Regions from separate parts of the Homo sapiens genome. Here all the other regions are linked to region 1. The links are contacts of gene promoters, found by promoter capture Hi-C in blood cells and fetal thymus (Javierre and others, 2016). All regions are on one chromosome and are shown on one strand. The core of a region is centred on a gene start or on the middle of the fragment in contact, and the rest is flanking DNA. Distances in the headings are between cores, read along the strand shown.

Evidence for each region. Contacts are between HindIII fragments. The CHiCAGO score rates a contact against its expected background, and 5 or more counts as called.
Region 2: a contact is called between a fragment that was not itself captured here and the fragment with the promoter of LSG1 in region 1, in 7 of 17 cell types (fetal thymus, naive CD4 T cells, non-activated CD4 T cells and 4 more). The highest score is 15.1, in fetal thymus.
Region 3: a contact is called between a fragment that was not itself captured here and the fragment with the promoter of LSG1 in region 1, in 10 of 17 cell types (fetal thymus, naive B cells, naive CD8 T cells and 7 more). The highest score is 11.8, in fetal thymus.
Region 4: a contact is called between a fragment that was not itself captured here and the fragment with the promoter of LSG1 in region 1, in 1 of 17 cell types (naive CD8 T cells). The highest score is 8.0, in naive CD8 T cells.
Region 5: a fragment that was not itself captured here is called in contact with the fragment with the promoter of LSG1 in region 1 in 1 of 17 cell types (naive CD8 T cells); the score reaches 5.9 in naive CD8 T cells.
Region 6: a contact is called between a fragment that was not itself captured here and the fragment with the promoter of LSG1 in region 1, in 5 of 17 cell types (total CD8 T cells, naive CD8 T cells, M1 macrophages and 2 more). The highest score is 8.6, in total CD8 T cells.
Region 7: a fragment that was not itself captured here is called in contact with the fragment with the promoter of LSG1 in region 1 in 17 of 17 cell types (naive CD8 T cells, naive B cells, total CD8 T cells and 14 more); the score reaches 35.2 in naive CD8 T cells.

What each region holds. Positions count from the first base shown.
Region 1 is chr3:194,670,807-194,673,743 of GRCh38, forward strand. It overlaps LSG1 (large 60S subunit nuclear export GTPase 1), which reads right to left and starts at 1,385. Exons shown (of 14, transcript NM_018385.3): 1 at 1,258-1,385. The coding sequence starts at 1,356. It overlaps LOC124909474, which reads right to left. Exons shown (of 3, transcript XM_047449428.1): 3 at 2,858-2,937. The HindIII fragment of the contact is 1,582 bases long and covers 1,378-2,937 here.
Region 2 is chr3:195,553,777-195,556,713 of GRCh38, forward strand. It overlaps the pseudogene RN7SL73P and the pseudogene RPL24P6. Among named protein-coding and RNA genes, the nearest start is that of PPP1R2, 12 kb to the left of the region's middle. The HindIII fragment of the contact is 9,159 bases long and covers 1-2,937 here.
Region 3 is chr3:195,519,326-195,522,262 of GRCh38, forward strand. All of the region lies in intron 4 of PPP1R2 (protein phosphatase 1 regulatory inhibitor subunit 2), which reads right to left. Among named protein-coding and RNA genes, the nearest start is that of PPP1R2, 23 kb to the right of the region's middle. The HindIII fragment of the contact is 457 bases long and covers 1,207-1,663 here.
Region 4 is chr3:195,448,861-195,451,797 of GRCh38, forward strand. No RefSeq gene overlaps it. Among named protein-coding and RNA genes, the nearest start is that of ACAP2, 7.3 kb to the left of the region's middle. The HindIII fragment of the contact is 8,844 bases long and covers 1-2,937 here.
Region 5 is chr3:195,302,028-195,304,964 of GRCh38, forward strand. ACAP2 (ArfGAP with coiled-coil, ankyrin repeat and PH domains 2) reads right to left here. Exons shown (of 23, transcript NM_012287.6): 14 at 1-147. Among named protein-coding and RNA genes, the nearest start is that of XXYLT1, 32 kb to the left of the region's middle. The HindIII fragment of the contact is 2,701 bases long and covers 228-2,928 here.
Region 6 is chr3:195,283,125-195,286,061 of GRCh38, forward strand. It overlaps ACAP2 (ArfGAP with coiled-coil, ankyrin repeat and PH domains 2), which reads right to left. Exons shown (of 23, transcript NM_012287.6): 22 at 2,672-2,733. Among named protein-coding and RNA genes, the nearest start is that of XXYLT1, 13 kb to the left of the region's middle. The HindIII fragment of the contact is 1,060 bases long and covers 949-2,008 here.
Region 7 is chr3:195,254,914-195,257,850 of GRCh38, forward strand. All of the region lies in intron 1 of XXYLT1 (xyloside xylosyltransferase 1), which reads right to left. Among named protein-coding and RNA genes, the nearest start is that of XXYLT1, 15 kb to the right of the region's middle. RefSeq lists a silencer at 1,186-1,360. The HindIII fragment of the contact is 1,614 bases long and covers 559-2,172 here.

The sequences.
Region 1 (2,937 bases), core at 135-2,634:
TGGTGGTTTGTGCCTGTAACCCCAGCTCCTCAAGAGGCTAAGGCAGGAGGATTGCTTGAGGCCAGGAGTTTGTGATCAGCTTGGGCAACACAGCAAGACCCTGTCTCTCCAAAACAAACAAACAAAACCAAACAACCAGGCCTGATGGTGTGCACCTGTAATGCCAGCTACTCAAGAGACTGAGGCAGGGGGATTATTTGTGCCCAGAAGTTTGAGACTGTAGTGAATTGGTGAGTTATGATCACACCACTGGCACTCTAGCCTGGGTGACAGAGTGTGACCCTGTCTCTAAAAATGAATAACTGAATGATGAATGAATTTCCTAAATAAATATTAAGGGCCAAAAGTTTAAGTGGGCATAGAATCAGCAAAAATAAGGAATTAGGATCCAATTCTTTACCATTCATGTTCAATCTTCCCACAGTTTCCTAAAAGGCTTCATTAGTAACAAGTTGCTTCAAAGCTAATAAAAATTACCAGTAATCTAATGTCCAGAGTAACTCTGACCTGATGAATACTGATAAGCACTCCATGCTGTTTACTCTGCAGACTATATGGATGAAAGTCAGCTGGTGTGACAGTGGCACACGCTTACTTAGCTCCAGGGACATATTTAACTAAATTTAGCACACGATCTTAGCACTCAACATGTTCTCATTCATTCCCGGGGGAATGAATGGTGAAAATAACGACTAGAATGATGAACACAAGCCAAATCACTTCATTCATTTTTTTAAAGATCCTTCTATAACCTAGTAAAATATTAGGTCTTGTCACACCTGAAAAATCAATGATTTATCTTTGAGCTAAACCACTAGGGGGTGCTTCGCAAGGATGAGGCAAGGATCTGAATTATTTTATATTTCTGGCAGTAACCAACCGCTTCTGGAGGATCCATTCTTTGAACAAATCAATACAAAAATACGTTTTGTCTTTTTCCTGCTCTGGAAGTTCCAAGCACTTCAGTGGCTTCTAGGGCAAAACCCAAACGTACTCAAGACCTGGCATTGAAGACTCTTCAGATTCTCACTCCACGCCTCATCACCACACTAACTCTTCTTTCAAGCTTCTCCTACCTTTGTGTTCTGGGCCTTGCCAGGAGGAGGGCCTGCTACTCAGCTTGGCAGAAACTCCAACTCATCCTTCAAAACCCGGCTGAGGCGTCCCTCCTGCAAAACTTATCTGACTTTTGACCCCGAATTTTGCAGCACTCAGGCTAGACAGAAAAGATAAGAAAGATGACATGGTCTGTCTTACCCAGGAGTCAGTGTGACGATGGCTTCGGCTCCGCTGAGTCTGATGGCGCATAAGGGCCCGTCCCAGCGACCCACCGGCCGGGGCTCTCCTCCGGCCCATGGCAACACGACCGCTGGACGAAGCTTCCCGGCTCGGCGCGTGCAGTTTCCGGGATTCACAGTTCGATCCCCGGAAGTGACGATAAGCGAGCCCAAGTAGTTCAGGCTCAAACTTGAGAGGGGAAAGCAGAATGACTTGTTCTCAAGTTCTCCTTTTACGTCTCGATTTTACCAGTATTATAGAATATAAGTGAAAAAATGGTTCTGGGAAATTTTCGATAGATTTCCTGGCGAATGTCTCGAGTTTGGATAAATGACTGAGTTAAAAGAATGGTCCATTCTTAATTTGTGCGTCGGTCTTTAGCGTCCGGCGAGAAACTAGAGCACGTCGGAAACATGGCGGTTCCTATTCGCGGCACTAGCTCCGCCTTCCGCTGCTTCCGTCAGGAGGACGCGGAGACTCGGAGGAAGAGTGTTTCGGTGGCGCTGGGACGGGGGCGTTTCCCAGCGCTGGTTTTCTGCTGGCGTCCCGAGGTGTGGTCTCTCCGAGGTCCAGCACAGCAACTAACTTTTTGTTTATCTAGCCGACCCCAGCTGCGAACTGGGGAGAAAAGTCTTCGCCTGGATGTGAATTTGGAATGAGAGGCTGAATAGTATTTCCAGAGCTTGGCAAGGTTGTAGGAAAAGCCAACAGGAAGTGACTTACGCTTTATTTCAAAGAAAAAAAAAATGTTTAAACAGTTCTAATTATATTTTCATTACCCTTTTTAAAAATAATTAAAATGAAAGTGAAAACAGTGAGCCAGCTCCACTCCTAGAGGCCTGGGCTTTTGTTCCTCACTTGAATGTTTGATTTCCCTATAATGGGAATAATAGAAAGTCAGCTTAGAGTGGCTGGTGAACTACATTCTCATTGATCCAGAGAACCATCTCTTTGTTTTGATGCTTGGAGAGAGGAAGCAGCTTGAGCAAGTCGTAGATTGAGTGCGTGCAGTGTCAGGAATAAACCCAAGTCTTGTCACTAGCCTGTACACCCCTGGGGAGAGTGGGGAATGAGGGTTGTTAACATGTATTATTTATTTATTTTTATCTTTTGAGACAGAGTCTCGCTGTCCCCCAGGTGGAGTGCAAAGGCATGATCTCGGCTCACTGCAACCTCTGCTTCCCGGGTTCAAGTGATTCTCCTGCCTTAGCCTCCCGAGTAGCGGGAATTACAGACACGTGCCACCGCACCCAGCTAATTTTTGTATTTTTAGTAGAGACAGGGTTTGACTATTTTGGCCAGGCTGGTCTCGAACTCCTGACCTCAGGTGATCGCCCGCCTCGGCCTCCCAAAGTGCTAGGATTACAGGTATGAGCCACTGCGCCTGGCCAAACATGTATTTTTAAATCATAGGATCGAGGTAATGCATATATTACCTAGCATAGCTTGATTTAGCCATTCCACAATGTACACATATATCAAAACATTATGCGGTACAACGTAAGTAATAAACAATTTTTAGTTGTCAATTAAAACAACAGCCAAAAAGAAATAAATAGGATCAAGAATCTGTTTAACCTAGGGCTTTTCACACTTTAATGTGCATATAAATCCCCTGGGAATCTTGTTAACATGCAGATTCTGATTCATAAGCTCTGG
Region 2 (2,937 bases), core at 250-2,749, 880 kb after region 1:
AATCTCCTAAATCAGGCTGGGCATGGTGGCCCATGCCTGTAATCCCAGCACTTTGGGAGGCTGAGGTGGGTGGATCACCTGAGGTTAGGAGTTCGAGACCAGCCTGGCCAACATGGTGAAACCCCATCTCTACTAAAAATACAAAAATTAGGCTGGGCGTGGTGGCCCATGCCTGTACTCCCAGCACTTTGGGAGGCTGAGGTGGGTGGATCACCTGAGGTTAGGAGTTCGAGACCAGCCTGGCCTACATGGTGAAACCCCATCTCTACTAAAAATACAAAAATTAGGCTGGGCGTGGTGGCTCACGCCTGTAATCCTAGCACTTTGGGAGGCTGAGGCGGGTGGAGCATGAGGTCAAGAGATCGAGACCATCCTGGCCAACATGGTGAAACTCCATCCCTACTAAAAAAAAAATGCAAAAATTAGCTGGGTGTGGTGGTGCACACCTGTAGTCTCAGCTACTCTGGAGGCTGAGGCAGAAGAATCGCTTGAACCTGGGAGGCGGAGGTTGCAGTGAGCCGAGATCGCGCCACTGCACTCCAGCCTGGCAACAGAGCAAGACTCCATCTCATAAAACAAACAAACAAACAAACAAACAAAACCAACAACAAAATCAAAAGTTAGCTTGGCCTGGTGGTGGGTGCCTGTAATCCCAGCTACTCCAGAGGCTGAGGTAGGGAGGATCTCTTGAACCTGGCGGTGGAGGTTGCAGTGAGCCGAGATCACACCTCAGTACTCCAGCCTGGGCGACAAGAGCAAAACTAAACACCATCTCAAAAAATAATAATAATAGTTCTCTTTGCCATCATTTCTCTTCCCGTGGAGCCGCTGCCATGAAGGTTGACCTGTGCAGTTTCAGCAGGTACAAGATCTACCCCGGACACGGGAGGCGCCACGCCAGGACCGACGGGAGGGTTTTCCAGTTTCTTAATTCAAAATGCAAGTTGGCGTTCCTTTCCAAGAGGAATCCTCCGCAGATAAACTGGACTGTCCTCTACAGAAGGAAGCACAAAAAGGGGCAGTCGGAGTAAATTCAAAAGAAAAGAACCCACCGAGCAGTCAAATTCCAGAAGACCATTACGGTGTATCTCTTGCTGCTATAATGGCCAAGAGGAATCAGAAACCCGAAGTTAGAAAGGCTCAAAGAGAACAAGCTATCAGGGCTGCTAAGGAAGCAAAAAATGGCTAAGCAAGCATCTAAAAAGACTGCAAGGGCTGCTGCTACGGCACCTACAAAGGCAGCACCTGAGCAAAAGATTGTGAAGCCTGTGGAAGTTTCAGCTCCCCGAGTTGGTGGAAAACACTAAACTGGCAGATTAGATTTTTAAATAAAGATTGGATTATAACTCTAATAATAAGAAGAAAATAAAAATCTCCTAAATCTGCCTTCGCCTTTCTACTTCCACTTTCTAGTTCAGGCCCTCGTCATGACACAGTGGAGCACTGGCCATCTCACAGGTCCTCCTGCTGTCAGGCCCGTGCATCCCCTCTCCATTCCCCTCTGCTGCTAGAGCCATCACTCAGTGCTGCGGACGGTACCCCTCCCAGGGCAGGAGGTAGGTGGATCCCCATAGCGTCATGAATGACTCTGCTTTAGTCAGCTGCCTGGGCTTTACCAGCCCCTTCCTCATCAGATCCTGGCATTCTCTGTAGCCAACCTGAAGACAGAGCATTTGCTTTTAGAGAACTCCAGCCTCGATTTGTTCTTTAGTGACTTTTTTCCTACCGTGAATTAACAAGTTGGTATTTGGATTTCATTTTTAAGATGTAAGTTAAATTGTTTCCTAGAATTGAGTCCTTGAATCAATTCACCTTCAGATTGTAATCTGAGCTCCATGTCATGGTTTACAAAGCTGTCAGTGATCTGGCCTTTGGCCACCTGTTCTACTTCTCCTCTGCAGGGTCCCGGACCCTAGGTGCTACAGAATTGAGTTCCTACTTGGTGGCAGTCTTTCCTCTGCCTGGGATACCACCTCCTCCCCCTTCTATTTCTTTTCTTTCTTTCTTTTTTTTTTTGAGATGGAGTCTCGCTTTGTCGCTCAGGCTGGAGTGCAGTGGCGCGATCTTAGCTCACTGCAACCTCCACCTCCTGGGTTCCAGCGATTCTTCTGCCTCAGCCTCCCGAGTAGCTGGGATTATAGGTGCACACCACCATGCCCGGCTAATTTTTGTATTTTTAGTAGAGACGGGGTTTCACCATGTTGGCCAGGCTGGTCGCAAACTCCTGACCTCGTGATCTGCCCGCGTCAGCCTCCCGAAGTGCTGGGATTACAGGTATCAGTCACCGCGCCCGGCCTCCCCCTTCAATTTTTGACTACCTCCAGCTCGTTTATTCCAAACGCAGCTCAGGATTTGCTCTGGAATGAAGCCTTCTCCACCTCTTCAGGGCAGCATCAGGTGGCCCTCCTCTGTTCTCCCAGAATCCCTCATTCTACCCTCTATTACAGCCTCTCGTCTTATTTGATCTCCACATCTACATGGCTGGTTTTCTTGTTTATCTTTCCCTGTAGACTCTGAGCAACTCCAGCAGGCTCCAGGTCAGTTCTCCCCAACACACTGTACCTAAATCATTTCTCTTTTGGCACCTATTGGGAGTATCCTGTGCTTTTTTCTTTTCTTTTTGCCTGATTTTTGGCATTTTAATTTTGCTTTTTCTTGATAGAATTGCTAGATTTCTATAGACGTTAGCTGTGGACTCTAAGGCAGTCCTCTCCAAAGGCATAGTGTTTGTACTACGATGGATGCGGAGCCACGAAGACTGAGTTGGGGATGGAGCCATCAGCAGGCAGCTGGGGGCGCTGCTGTGGATGAGACGCTGAGCTGACACGTGGAGACTCTTAACGATGATCGTTTCTGGGTGGATCCCAGCTGTAAATGCTTGAGACAACTTGCTTGCAGTCACCTGTAATGTTTGGTACAAATCAGGATTTGTAATTT
Region 3 (2,937 bases), core at 185-2,684, 850 kb after region 1:
GTTGAGTAGTTCGTAATAGAGACCACTGGGCCCTGCAAAATTTAAAATATTTACTATCTGGCATTCATCTCAATGGAAGAACAAGAATATATCCAGCCATTAGAAATTATATTTGTGAAGAAAGATTAAAGCTATGGGAAAATTATCCAGAAAGAGTTAAATGGTGACAAAAGAGCGAGTTACAACACCATATACTATATTTACTATGTACAATGCCTGTCACATACACACACAGAGAGAAAAATAAGACTCAGCAATTAACAGTGTTTAATTCTGAGTCAAGGAACAATGAAGTAGTTTTAATATTTTATTATTTTCTATTTTTATAATTAAGAAAAAATCCTTTAAAACAATTCTTACCTGTTAAGAAACTGCCATGATTTAAGACATTGTTGGCTAAAAACGTAACCTCATTTTCAGAGTAATTTTAAGAAAAACGTATTATAAAGTAATGGTGAAGTGACTCCAAAATATTTCATTTTAGTCTTCACCATAGAAACATAAAGCTGGCAGCAACACAACTGATCACACTAGAGCAACTATTTATGAATACATAATTTTAAGGTTTTTAACTTCCTTAGATCAGAAAATTAAAAAAAAAAAAAAACAACAGAAAAGGGGGGGCCAATATAAAATTGCCAGCTATTTTACCAATGAACAGCATTAAAATTATTCACCGTTGTTTTATTTTTTCTTTTTTTCAAGATGGAGTTTCACTCTAATTGCCCAGGCTGGAGTGCAATGTGCAATCTTGGCTCACGGCAACCTTAGCCTCCTAGGTTTAAGCGATTCTCCTGCCTCAGTCTCCCGAGTAGTTGGGATCACAGGCATGTGCTACCACTCCTGGCTAATTTTGGTAGTTTTAGTAGAGACGGGGTTTCATCATGTTGGCCAGGTTGGTCTCCAACTCCTGACCTCAGGTGATCCGCCTGCCTTGGCCTCCAAAAGTGCTGGGATTACAGGCATGAGCCACTGCGCCTGGCTTCACCATTGTTTTATTAAAAATTTCATCAAAATATTTCAATGTCAAAAATGCACAGAGGCCAGATGCTGGGGCTCATGCCTGTAATCCCAGGAGTTCAAGACCAGCCTGGGCAACATGGCAAGAACCTATCTCTACAAAAAAATTACAAAAAATTAGCTGGGTGTGGTAGTACACGACTGTGGTCCCAGCTACTGGGAAGGCTGAGATGGGAGGACTGGCTAAGCTTAGAAGGCTGAAACTGCAGTGAGCCGCGACTATGCCACTGCACTCCAGCCTGGGTTGACAAGTGAGACCGTAGCTCAAAAATTTATTTATTTACTTTTTAAAAAGCAGAGACATCTCTCAATAAGGGTATTTACAGTACTTTCTTCTTTTTTTTAAATTTTAATTTTTAGAGATGAGATCTCACTGTTGCCCAGGCTGGCTTCCAACTTCTGGGCTCAAGCAGTCCTCCTACCTCAGCCTCCCAAGTAACTGGAACTACAGATGCGTGCCACCACACCTGGCCTCCAAAGTACTTTCTCTTTGTTTGATTTTTACTAGAGACGGGGTTTCACCATGTAGGTCAGGCTGGTCTTGAACTCCTGACCTCAAGTGATCCACCTGCCTCAGCCTCCCAAAGCACTGGGATTACAGGTGTAAGACACCGCACCTGGCCAGTACTTTCTTAATTCCCTAAGCTTTTATCAACATCTATACTTATATTTTTAAAACTTATACTGAAGTCCGGGCGCAGTGCTCACGCCTGTAATCCCAGCACTTTGGGAGGCCGAGGAGGGCGGATCATGAGGTCAGGAGTTTGAGAACATCCTGGCTAACATGGTGAAACCCCGTCTCTACTGAAAATACAAAAAATTTGCTGGGCGTGGTGGCACACGTCTGTAATCCCAGCTACTCAGGAGGCTGAGGCAGGAGAATCACTTGAACCTGGGAGGTGGAGGTTGCAGTGAGCGAAGATCGCGCCACTGCACTCCAGCCTGGGCGACAGAGCAGGACTCTGTCTCAAAAAAAAAAAAAAAAAAAAAAAAGAACTGCAATAATTACCCAGTTTAGACAATAAAGTATATGAACATACAGTAAACATTCTGCCATAATGATTTATGTAATTTTAAAATCGTTACAAGTTGTTGAGTCATAATTTAATTCCCTATTTTTGGTTAAAGATTTCTGATTTCCTTCATGTTTTCAATGTTTCTTTTGGTTTGTTTTTATTTTGTGAAGGTATATCAGCAATTTTCAATGTTTTTAAGACTATATATATAAAATATATTGTGCATTTGTTCTATTATTTTCTCAGTATGAGCCAGTGTTTTTGAAACTGTGCATCATGATTATTTATGTACTTATTTATTTTTTTAAAGACAAAGTCTCACTCTGTCACCCAGCCTGGAGTGCAGTGGCATGATACCGGCTCACTGCAACCTCCACCTCCCAGGTTCAAGCAATTCTTGTGCCCCAGCCTCCCGAGTAGCTGGGATTAGAGGCGCCCACCACCATGCCTGGCTAATTTTTGTATTTTTAGTAGAGATGGGGTTTCGCCATGTTGGCCAGGCTGGTCTCAAACTCCTGGCCTCAAGAGATCCTCCTGTCTCAGCCTCCCAAAGTGCTGGGATTACAGGCATAAGCCACCAAACCCGGCCATCATGATTCTTAATAAGTCATAACTAACATTTAAAAAGGTTAAGGCAGACTATTTATATGAATACAACAAGTGAATTATTCTTTTTATACCTACTTTTACTTTTTATGGGGGAATATCTTAAGTTGTTAAAAGTTAGTATTTAGTGAGTGCTCACAATATGCCAAGATCAGTGATAAGTGCTTTAAATGCTTTAACTCATTTAGTAGTCACCAAAATATTTTTACAGCTGCCAATTTAGAAATGAGAAAACGGAGGCTCGGAGAAATTATGCAAATTAGCCAAGTGGCATACCTGGAGCACAAACTTAGGT
Region 4 (2,937 bases), core at 201-2,700, 780 kb after region 1:
GGGCGCCTGTAGTCCCAGCTACTCGGGAGGCTGAGGCAGGAGAATGGCGTGAACCCGGGAGGCAGAGCTTGCAGTGAGCCGAGATGGCAGCACTGCACTCCAGCCTGGGCGACAGAGCAAGACTCCATCTCAAAAAATAAATAAATAAATTAATTAATTAATTAATTTAAAAAATTGAAAGAATCTGATGGCCAACCAAATGTGGGGAGAAGGAAAAAATAAAGACAACTCCTCGGATGACTCCAGGTTGCAGATCTGGGTGACTGGGTAATAGGTAGTGCTATTCATAGAAAGGGGAGAAAGTTTATCTCAAAATATGTTGCTTCAGAAAGTCCTTAAATGTTCTCATCTTATACCATTTTCTCACCCAGAACATCCCATGCACAAGCTCAGCATAGATGTCTCTAGTTGTCTCATTCCCATATATTCACTTCATACTCACGTTCCCACTCCCACCCCCATGCCAGTATTCCTTTTTTCTCCCAGGCTGTTGGTATACCACCCTGTCTCTCCCTCCACCTCAGGGCAGTTTCATACCCACAGCTCGGGATTGATCCAAGCATTTTCCTTCTGCTTTCTCCTCTCCTAGTTGCTGAGCAAGATTAGAAATAATTTCTATTGTAAAGCAGCAGGAAGCCATTGGAAAAATCTAAACAGAGGAATGGTATCATCTGATTTGTGCTGGAGTGCACTGGTGTGATCATAAGTCACTGCTGCCTCGACCTCCCAGACTCAAGTGATCCTCCATCCTCAACCTCCCGAGTAGTTGGAAGTACAGGTGCACGCCACACGCCTGGCTAATATTTGTACGTTTTGTAGAGGTGGGTCTCACTGTGTTGCCTGGGGCTGATCTGGAACTCCGGAGCTCAAGTGATCCTCCCTGCCTCAGACTCCCGAAGTAATTACAAGTATGAGCTGCTGTACGTGGCCTGATTTGTATTTTAAGGGGGAATAAGTAGGCAAATGGGTGAAGGCTTTTAGGGAGACTCTATCATTGCATTCACCAGCACATGAGACTCTATCACTGAGTCTCCATCACTGTGTTCACCACCACATACTTAGGATTTGCAACTGTCTTTTTTTTTTTTTTTTGAGATGGAGTTTTGCTCTTGTCGCCCAGGCTGGAGTCCAGTGGCGCAATCTTGGCTCACTGTAACCTCCACCTCCCAGGTTCAAGTGATTCTCATGCCTCAACCTCCCGAGTAGCTAGGATTACAGGTGCCCACCACCACACCCAGCTAATTTTTCTATTTTTAGTAGAGACGGGGTTTCACCACGTTGGCCAGGCTGGTCTCAAACGCCTGACCTCAGGTGATCCACCTGCCTCGGCCTCCCAAAGTGCTGGGATGACAGGCGTGAGCCACCGCGCCTCATCTCAACTGTCTTTGTATTATTTATCTGTGACCAGTTCCCTGGCCCACTGGCACAATGGCTGTTCTCAAACCTTGCTGCTCTCCTCAAGCCTCCCAGCAAATGTGCCCCACCCCACTCATGATTTGCAAACAACATTGGGTCCTCAAAAAGAAAATAAGAGTCATTAGGAACACTCTTCTACCCCCAGCCCACATACTCATCTATGTTCGCACTTTTCTTACTTCTTACCCACCTATCTCAGAGGAAGGTGGCATCTCTTTCTGCCACTCCTGATCTGTGCTCTAGGGAATCCACCCCTTCTGTTCTCTTTGGAGAATGGCTCTATCAATTATCCCCTCCTTCTCTGTACCTTCAAACTCTCAACTGACCATTCTTCTGTCTTTGGAAGAAAGAGAAGAAAATCATACACCGTCTGTATCAGAAAGGATTATTTTTGTTGTAAGAGAAACTATGTGAGTTAATGAAAACAAAGGGTTCATGATGGGTTAGTTTCACCCAGAACCAGATGGCTGGCTTTCCTTGAAACTTGAGAAGGATTTAGAACGAGGGCCTGTAAAGCCGGCAGCTCCTTCCTGTCTGCCCATTTCCACATCTGCAGCTTACTTCATCTGACTCTCCAGGCAGCAGCTCCCAACACTACCCAACCAACCGGAGAGGATGGGCTTTCTCTCTAGGCCCCAAATCTAAATTTCTTGGAGGAAGTATTGGCCCACCTTGGATGCTGTACCCCGCACAGAGGCCAATCAACTACAGTCAAGGAGGCAGCTGTGTACAAACATGGCTCCTGAGAGTCTGCCCCTGTGACCTTGTAGTTGGGAAATCTCTTAGCCAAGAAGGGGGACATGTGAGTTGGAAAAATTCCCCTCTGACTATTGCCAAATCTCCTTCCGTTGCTTTATATCTAAGACTCTTTAACAGCACAGTCTCCACTCCCTACTCCACAGTTTCTCCTCCCATTCATTCCAATATCCTCTGCATTCTGTTCTCCACTCTCTCCAACACCCCTGCTCCCTACCAACTGTTTCAGGAAGGTCACTTTCCAACGGCCAAACCCAAAGCACACTTTCAGTACTTGTTTTCCTGACGTCTCCTCAGCATTTGCCACTGTTTCCAAGTCTTTCCACCTGGGAAACTCATGCCACTTTCCTGCTTAAGATTCTTCAAGGGTTGGTCATTGCCTAAGCTATCATTTTTCAGCTTTCCCTAACTATGAAACCCTTTATTTAAAAGAAAAAGTATTTCACTGATGCCCACCATTAAGTAGGCAAAAGCAGAGTTGGTGAGGTTGAAACAGGAATGGGAGACCCAGAGCCTTGCCCGCCTGGCCCCACTGCCCACCCCCGGATGGCCCCTGTGTGGACTCCAAGGAGCACTCACAGCTCCACTGAGTATAGTTGGAAAACCACAGGTCTGTAGGATAAACACTGAATTTCTAATTTCACAAATAAGGTCCCTTCAATATCCAGCACCTGCCAACCTTTCCTGCCTTCTTTGCTGCCAGTCTCTCTACTGCAAATAGGTTCATCCATCCATGAAGGAGTTGAATGCTCTCGCTTGTTTCAG
Region 5 (2,937 bases), core at 328-2,827, 630 kb after region 1:
ATCTGCCAGGCCACAGTCACAACAGCTGGCATTGCCAGGGATACACTGGACCCGCTGAAGCGCACTTTCTCCTTTCAATAATTTCTCTTTGGACTCATTTCCAGAATCTAGGCTTCCTGTGGATGGAGATGATTTCTTATCCAGCTTCTAAAAGAATTAAGAATTACTTGTTTTTAAAAAAAAAAAAGATTGAAATACTTTGTTGCACACTACATGCTCCAAACTAAAGCTTCCAATCAATAAATTAAAGGCCTGTTACAGGCATAAGCAAGGCAATAGTCTAGCTAGAAATTCAAGGATAAAAAGATGTAGGTTCTTCCATCAGTGAGCTTTTATTCCAGTGGGGAGAAACGTGTAAACATTTAAAATTATATATAATAAATGACACAATGAACATATGTACAAAAGATGAAGACAGAAAGGGAACACTAGTCTAACATGCAGGGTGGAGACAGAGGAAATAGGTAAGGGATTATTCAAACTCAAGAATGAAATAAATATTATTGTTTTATACCACACTTTTCCAAGGCGTTCAATAAACTTTAAGCTAGTCATTGTTTTTTTTTTCAGACCTCTCAGGGATAAGGCAAGTTAATTACTGCAGTGAGTAACTAGGAAAGGTATGAGCTTATATAAATAGTAAAGAAGAGATCAACTACAAAATTATAACTACAGAGTGAATCAAATATAGAACATACAATGTTTAAAACTTCAAGGGATATTAGGTAAAAGAGAAGAAAAGCAAAAGATGGCTGATTAACAAAAAGTTAATTTTTTGGCCGAGAGCGGTGTCACCCCTGTAATCCCAGCACTTTAGGAAGCTGAAGCGGGAGGACCACTTGGGTCCAGGTGTTCAAGATCAGCCTGGGCAACAGAGCAAGAGCCTGTCTCTAAAAAAGAATATGTCTGGGCACAATGGCTCATGTCTGTAATCCCAACACTTTGGGAGGCTGAGGCGGGTGGATCACTTTAGGCCAGGAGTTCAAGACCAGCCTGGCCAACACAGTGAAACCCTGTCTCTACTAAAAATACAAAAAAATTAGCTGGGCGTGGTGGCGCACACCTGTGATCCCAGCTACTCAGGAGGCTGAGACATGAGAATAGCTTAAACCCAGGAAACGGAGGTTGCAGTGAGCCAAGATCATGTTGACAAGAGTGAGACTCCAACCTGGGTGACAGAGTGAGACTCCGTCATATGAGCGTAAATACATACATACATACAAACATACAAATTAGCTAGGCATGGTGATGCACACCTGTGGTCCCAGCTACTCAGAAGGCTGAGGCATGAGAATTGCTTAAACCCGGGAGGGGGCTATTGTAGTAAGCCAAGATCATGCCACCGCACTCCAGCCTGGGTGACAGAGTGAGACTCCATCATATGTACATAAATACATACATACATACAAATTAGCTAGGCATGGTGGTGCACACCTGTGGTCCCAGCTACTCAGAAGGCTGAGGCATGAGAATCACTTAAACCCAGGAGGCAGAGGTTGCAGTGAGCCAAGATCATGACACCGTACTCCAGCCTGGGTGACAGAGTGAGACTCCATCATATGTACATAAATACATACATACATACAAACAAATAAGCTAGACATGGTGGTAAGCACCTGTGGTCCCAGCTACTCAGGAGACTGAGGTAGGAGGACTGCTTGAGCCCAGGAGGTCAAGGCTGCAGTGAACTATGATCACACCACTGCATTCCAGCCTGGGAAACAGGGCAAGACTCTGTCTCCCCGCCATCCTGCTACATGGCCATAATGACCGAATACAAAGATGTGGTACTTAGATCCTAAACAATGACAGATATGGTCTATAAAAAGTCTTCTGGTTTAAAAACATTTCAGGTCAGGCAAAGTAGCTCATGCCTGTAATCTCAGCACTTTGGGAAGCCGAGGTGAGTGGATCACAAGGTCAGGAGTTCGAGAGCAGCCTGGCCAATATGGTGAAACCCTGTCTCTACTAAAAATACAAAAAAAAATTAGCCGGGCATGGTGGTACATGCCTGTAATCCTAGCTACTAGGGAGGCTGAGGCAGCAGAATCGCTTGAACCTGGGAGGTGGAAGTTGCAGTGAGCTGAGACCGTGCCCCTGCACACCAGCCTGGGCAATGGAGTGAGACTCCATCTCAAAAAAAAAAAAAAAAAAAAAAAAAAAAAAAACTTCCCTGTAAGTTTAGGATTATTCCGAAATTTTAAGAAAGAAATATTTGTTTTACCAGAATATGTTCGATAATGGGAATTAGCAATTATGTAAGGAAAGAATATCAATATTATATTACAGAAATCATGTTGGTTCATTCCCAAGTTTTCTCTATATGCTAATGTTTTTGCACCAAATTAGAGAACTAAGTACACAAACACAGCAAAACTTGGGTCAGCCACTTCAAGGAACACAGCACTGAATATGACACCAATTCACGAAAGTATTAATAGGAGGAATGATTGTTTAAGCAGGACAGTTCAATCCTACTGTCGCTGCCCCCCATCTCCATGCCACTAGGGGATGACTGCTCTCTACACAAACACAATGACTGGAAGTTATTCTCTGGAGGATTAAAACAGAGTCTCTGAATCGACTTCACCTGAAAGGTGGAAGCCAGAGGATTAAATGAACATATACATACAATATGCTAAGATACCCAGTGCTTAGCTCCCCACCAATCCCTCATAGCTATGCAGGAGATCAATGAGTCTTCTCTGGGAAATCACATCAGCCGAAAAGACTCAAAAAGACCCTGACGATGGTTGTTCCTCAACAAATGGTCCAGACTTAGACAAAGGCCACAGTCAACAAAGTCCTAATTTTGTGCTCAGAGTTTCCAAAGAAGTTTTTAGTGCCTAACACTTATGATGAGATAGCCAAAGGAAGCCTCTAACGCAATAGCTCTCAACATTGGTTGTTTATGGAACTAACCCAGGAAGCTTGTGA
Region 6 (2,937 bases), core at 229-2,728, 610 kb after region 1:
ACTGGCTGAGAGCCTGCCAACGATCAAGAAGAGTCACAGAGCCAGAGACTGTGGGAACCACCAAACCGGTTTCCAACAACTGAGAGAAGAGTGTGCTGTTTCCCTCACCCACCCATGTCTCCTAAGGGCTACTGGGACTGCCAAAGAGAGACACACCTTCTTTTGAAGAAAACGTGTGCTCTCAATCACCCCACGCAAGAAACAGGGAGTCCCAGGTCCCTAGGGTTGTACAGATAGAAAGTTCACAAGTGGGGTTTCCTAGAAATAAATCAGTGATTGCCAAAGATTACATCTGAATCTTTTAAAGGATAAGAGCTCTTCATTATCAAAAGATTAAAAATACCTGCATTTAATTTACCCAGAGTTCTGAGGTTTTCATTCTATTGCTAAGAAAACCAAAAAAGGATCTCAATAAAACAAGCAACCAAAGCATTTGATAGAAAAATGTACAGTGATAAGCAGAGGAAAAACAAACAGCCGCTGCCTGAGCCAAACATACCTGTCTCATAAAGAAAAAGAACAGAAACCGAAGAGCAATTGCTATGCCATTTCACCATGTCCCCTGTCTAAGCATAAAATCATCCTGCTTTAAATATTAGGCCCTCTGAATGAGTTAAAAATCTAACCCTTCTCAAGATGATCCTCAAATAAATCAGAAATATCTCAATTTTATTCTGATATACTATTTCCAGAATTCTGGTCTATTTTTTAACCTCTAAACTAAAATGTGAGAATGGTAAGAGAGCTTGTTTTAAAATGAGGCTTTTTTTTTCAAGTTTTCATTAAATTAAATTGGTAAAATCTTTTCTATACATTTTAAGTTTATGTATATATAAACTCAAAAATGACAGTGGAAGACATTTGAATGCTCCTAAATGATGGTGGCAGACACCCAAACAATTTGGGTGGAACTAGAAGTGGCAAGAACTTAGAGGCCCTTTCCTTTCAAGCTTCCCAACTCCAGAGAAGAGTCGACCACTGACCACCTGGCTAATCAGCTGGGTGAACTTCATCAGCAGACACCGTAAGGAAAGAGCAGCTAACCAAACACTGAAGTTAAAAATGTCAGGGGGAAAATAATTGTTTAACTTAAAATCGTGAGGTTCACTCTTCTCTTACAAATATCAGGTCATATTCTTTAAACAATTTTTATTTTAAAGTGCTTAAACACAAAGGCCTCAAAAACGGCCTAGTAATACTATCAGTTAAGAATATCTGTTATAAAATTATAACCTATTTAAAATCTAACATTCAAGTTTGAAACAAATGGGTGAAATCCAGAATGAACGCTAGAGCTTCACCCTTCATCAGCACTCTTCCATCTCGGAACATCATGAGCCGCCTACTATTGTATGATCCATAGGATTCAAGTGGGACACCCTAGATTAGAAATATCTAGCTGAAGTGCCTCTATTCTTAACGTTCTTACTTGTTCCACATTAAATTAGGCCAAAAATAAGCAGTAGTAAATACGGTCCTCTGAGGAAAGAACGGCCTCACATTAACTATATATTAATCTCGTTAAAATAAATGGCTGAAGTACAGAAATTTCAAAATGTATTTAAACAGGAAGAAGAGATGATATTACCAGGTCACTTTAAAAATAATGTATCAATATTCATTTTTAAAAAACCAAACCTACTCATTGCAAACTGAATATTCTCAAGTATTTTAGTCACGAATTCATGAAATTTTTTACTAATGTGTATATAAATTTAAAACAGACAGATGAGTAATTCATATACTCAAATTCATGAAACAAGAAAACCAATAATTACTCTCTTCTTTGTGAAGAACGTCTAATCAACGTGTTCTTCAAAGAGAAGAATCTGATACTTCTTCCTTGACATCTTGATTCAAAGGTGAAAATTACTCAAAATGAAACTTGAGGTGATCATGAATTGAAATTTCTCAAGTAGAATAAATCTACTTTGCCATCAGGTGCAAAAAGTATTGTTCTAAATACTTCCGCTTATCTAAGAGATAATGTACAACTGCCTGGAGGCAAAGCTTTAGCTTTAGATAAAATGAGACCTTTGCCCTCAGCCTTTCAAACTAGCTCCACTCACATCATGGACTTCTCCACCTGGTGAATTTTCATTTTAAATCTTCAACTCATTTTTAGATTGTAGTACAAAACTCATCAGTAAACTTTTTCTTGGTATTTTCCATACTGGCTTTTTATATGCCAGACACATGGTGATTTTTTTTTTCCCTGAACGTAATTTATAGAAATTCCCTGAATAACAAAAAGAAAACAATTTTGTTATATTCACTTGACAGCTAAAAAGAATTCCAAAAAGAAAACAACTATTTTGCTGCTGTAAGTATATGAAGAATATTTTTACCATTCCATTCATTTCACTGGAATGTATATGGAAGACATCCGTACAGCAAATAAAGAAGTCAGCAGCCAGAGTGAAATAGAGCAAGTCAATGTGTACTGTCATAGGAAGAGTTACGAATGTTTAAAGGCCCGGGATTAGCCACCCAAGGATTCAGTTAAGTACAGTACAAAGCTAACAACTCACAATTTACAAGTGGGTTATAAAAACTCTATAGTATCACATTAGTTTGCTAAAGAACTATGAATCTTCCAGTTGTAAACTGATAAATTCCTGAATGCATTTCTTATACTGCATTTCAGTATGGTTATTAGTAGAATATTGACCTGGCTGTCCATAAAGTCCTTCTGATTCCCGCATCTCTTCATTCATTCTTGCTAAACGTAACCTAAAAATAAATAAAATAGTGTTTTAGATGACATTATATAATATAAATGTCATAAATAAAGTCTATAAACAGGTAATACATGTACTAATGTAATTGTGTTTTATTTGCCATTAAAATAATCTGGCTTTTAGTTTATCAAACCCAGCAATCTGAGGTACAAAGATAAGTATCTCACCTTCATACAATTCTCATAAGAAAGGACAA
Region 7 (2,937 bases), core at 116-2,615, 580 kb after region 1:
TCCCAGAAAGATGAGGTAGAGCCAGGATCTAAAGCGGCCCATCTGTAGCCAACACCATACTCATTCAAGAGACACACGCCCATTCCCACACCCGCTGCACAGGAAAGAGAAAGAAGTCAGACTCGGACCCTGTCCCCAACTGCCCCAGGCTGGGAAATTCACCAGCACTGCGGACAGAGCAGGGGATAACAGCAGCATCAGAAAGACCCATAAGGCCATAGGTTTGCAGAGGGAATGCAGTCCCTCAGCAAGGAGCTTCAGTCGGACTAAACCAGCAGAAAAGGCGGTTTCCGAGTACCATGCTCGCACAACAGGGAGCCGCCGACCAGGCCTGGAGATCCCTGTGACAGTCACGGCAGGACTGGGGCTGCAGGAGTGCAGAGCCAGGTGGGAGACAGCAGCGGGGTTCCCTACCCCACACGGCTCGCACCCACGAGCTCAGCCCCCAGCAGGACCCAGTCGGGCTGGGGACTCAGCTCCATCCAAGTGGGCTGAGCAGGGCCAGGCAATGGGTTGGAGGGAGCCATGACTCTGGGCCTGCAGCTGAGGAGGCTGCAAAGCTTCCTTCTGGAGCAGCCGATCAGTGGACGTGGAGCAAAGCCTTTCATTGTCCACAAAACACAGACGACTGCAGGGAGTCACAAGTGGGTGAGATCCAAAAGCTGTGTCAGGCTAGAAACCAAAACAGAAGACAAACCGGCGCACAGAGCAAGCACAGCGTAGAACTGGCTTCCGAACACAAGGGAAGGCAGGCAGGGAGACCATGAGTGCAGGGAACCAGAGAGGGCACAGGAGAGCTGCTCCCAGTCTCCCTTGTCCACTGAGCAGCTGTGTGGCCCTGAGCAAGTTGCTTGGCCTCTCTGGGCCCCCGTTTTCTCATGGATAACATGAATAGACTCAACTCCAGGACCAGAGTCTGGACTCCCTCCAACCCAGACCTCTTCTGCAGCTAAATGAGGGAGGTGGGGCTCCAACATCTCAGCCTGTAAATCCCACCTCCTAGAAAGAGGCTCCCTGCTGTTCTATGGGCAGCTCCTGGAGGAGGGAGGGAAGGTCCACCCCGGGCAGCCCTGGGATTCCCCTGTTCTGTGCCACCCAGCTGACCAGGGGAAGAGGCCACCCAGCCAGCAGCAGGCACAGGGGCACCGTGGGAACCCTTCTGGTGGGGCCCCAGCTCTCACAGAGCATTCCTGGCTTTGGAGGGACAAGAACAAACCGCCAAAATCAACAGGCATCGGGCAGAGTGCTGAAGAATCAGCAAGCCGGACTCCAATCATGGCTCCGAGCAAGCTCATCTGTGCAGCCTCTTCCTAGGGGAGACTAGCTACCCCTCACAGGCCTGGCTGCTCCAAGGTTAAATGAGGGAGGAAAAGCAGGATCCAGCATGGTGCCTGCCACCCAGGGTCTCCTGCGATGGTGGCAACTGTGGCTCATTGACGGTGACGATAAACCTGAGACAGCTCTGGTCATTCCAAGTCCCTCGCCCTCATGCTCCGCGCAGGCCTGAGGTGCGGCCCTGCACAGGGCAGGGCCCGAGAAACGAACCAGTACCTCCCAGAGGACGGAAGGGAAGTCAGCACGGAAGCCTCACCTAGGGTCATTCCAGGGATTATCCCAGAAAGAGGGGAAGAGCAGCCTCCTCACACCCCGCAACTTCTCACCCGCACATTCAGGATGGGGTCTGGAAAGGGCATGAGCTCTGTAAGCCCCCAGCACTGTTTATACACGCCTGGAAGAGAACAGACTGTTACTCAGAGCCGGAGCGTCCCCACTCCTCTTATGATGAGAAACTGAGGCAAAGACATCAGAAGGCCTTGCTAACAGAAGCCAGGGTCAGAGGAAGACCCAGAACTCAGGATCAATAACATCTGGGCAGGACTCTGTCCACCACACTCCAGCTGAAGTGAGCGCCCAGGGGCAGGTGCAGGCTGAAGAGCTTGCCCAGGGCACTGCCTGCCAGCCGGGGCTCTAGGCAGACCAAGCAACCTTCCCAGGGCTCTCAGGTAAGGGAGACAAGTGAAGCCCCTTGTACCTCCCAAGGGCCAGCATCAGCATTTCTTCATGGTAATGCAAGGGGGACAGTTCCAAAACCCAAAACACCGCTGACACTTCATGGCTAGTGTCAGGCTGGATGACTTTCTGCAGGAGAACCCGTGACAAGAGGGACCGGGAAGCTTTCTTTACAAGCTTGAGGCCTCTGTAAGCGGCCAAGGACGCCATGTCCCGCAAGTCTGAGCAGCATGTGCACAGGACATCTGACGGGCATCGGTGCCCAGCCATCCCACCCCGGCCTTCCATGGCTGCACTCACACCCCACTGCCCACCGTGTTGGCATCCAGCTCCTCCAGTGTGCGAGCCTATGCAGTCTTACCCATGCCAGGCCCTGCGCCACTACATCCTGGAGACACAGAATGAAATAAGACACAGTGCTCATCCCCCAGCAGCTGGCAGAAGGGCCAGTGTCAGCTCGGCAGGAGCCAGGGGAAAGGGGCTCACCAGGGTGGAGGTGAGAGGTAGGTCCCCACATAACTGGCACCGTCCGAGCTTCATCATGAAAGGCGAGTTAATCAGATGAAGATGGGAGGAATGGGTGATCCGGGGAAGAAGCCCCTGAGCAAAGTCCCAGAGATGGGAAGTGGCCGGGGTACACCACAACCCCAGGCAGTCCAGCCAGGTGGATCACCATGGCAGCCAGGTACATCCTGGCTGGGCCGGCACGGGCCCCGTAGCTCTCCCTGTGGCTCCCGCTCCAGAGTCCTGGCTACTGCTGACTCTCTGCCAACCCAGAGAGCCACACACTCACCCAGCCAGGCCGCCCTACCCCAGCTGCCCCCCTCTGCCCCATCTTCTGGTCATGACTCTCCTGCCAGGGACAGAAGACAGAGCCAGTCTGTGGCTCCAGCTGCCTGAGTTCCCTCATCTCTAAGGTGGGCAGGT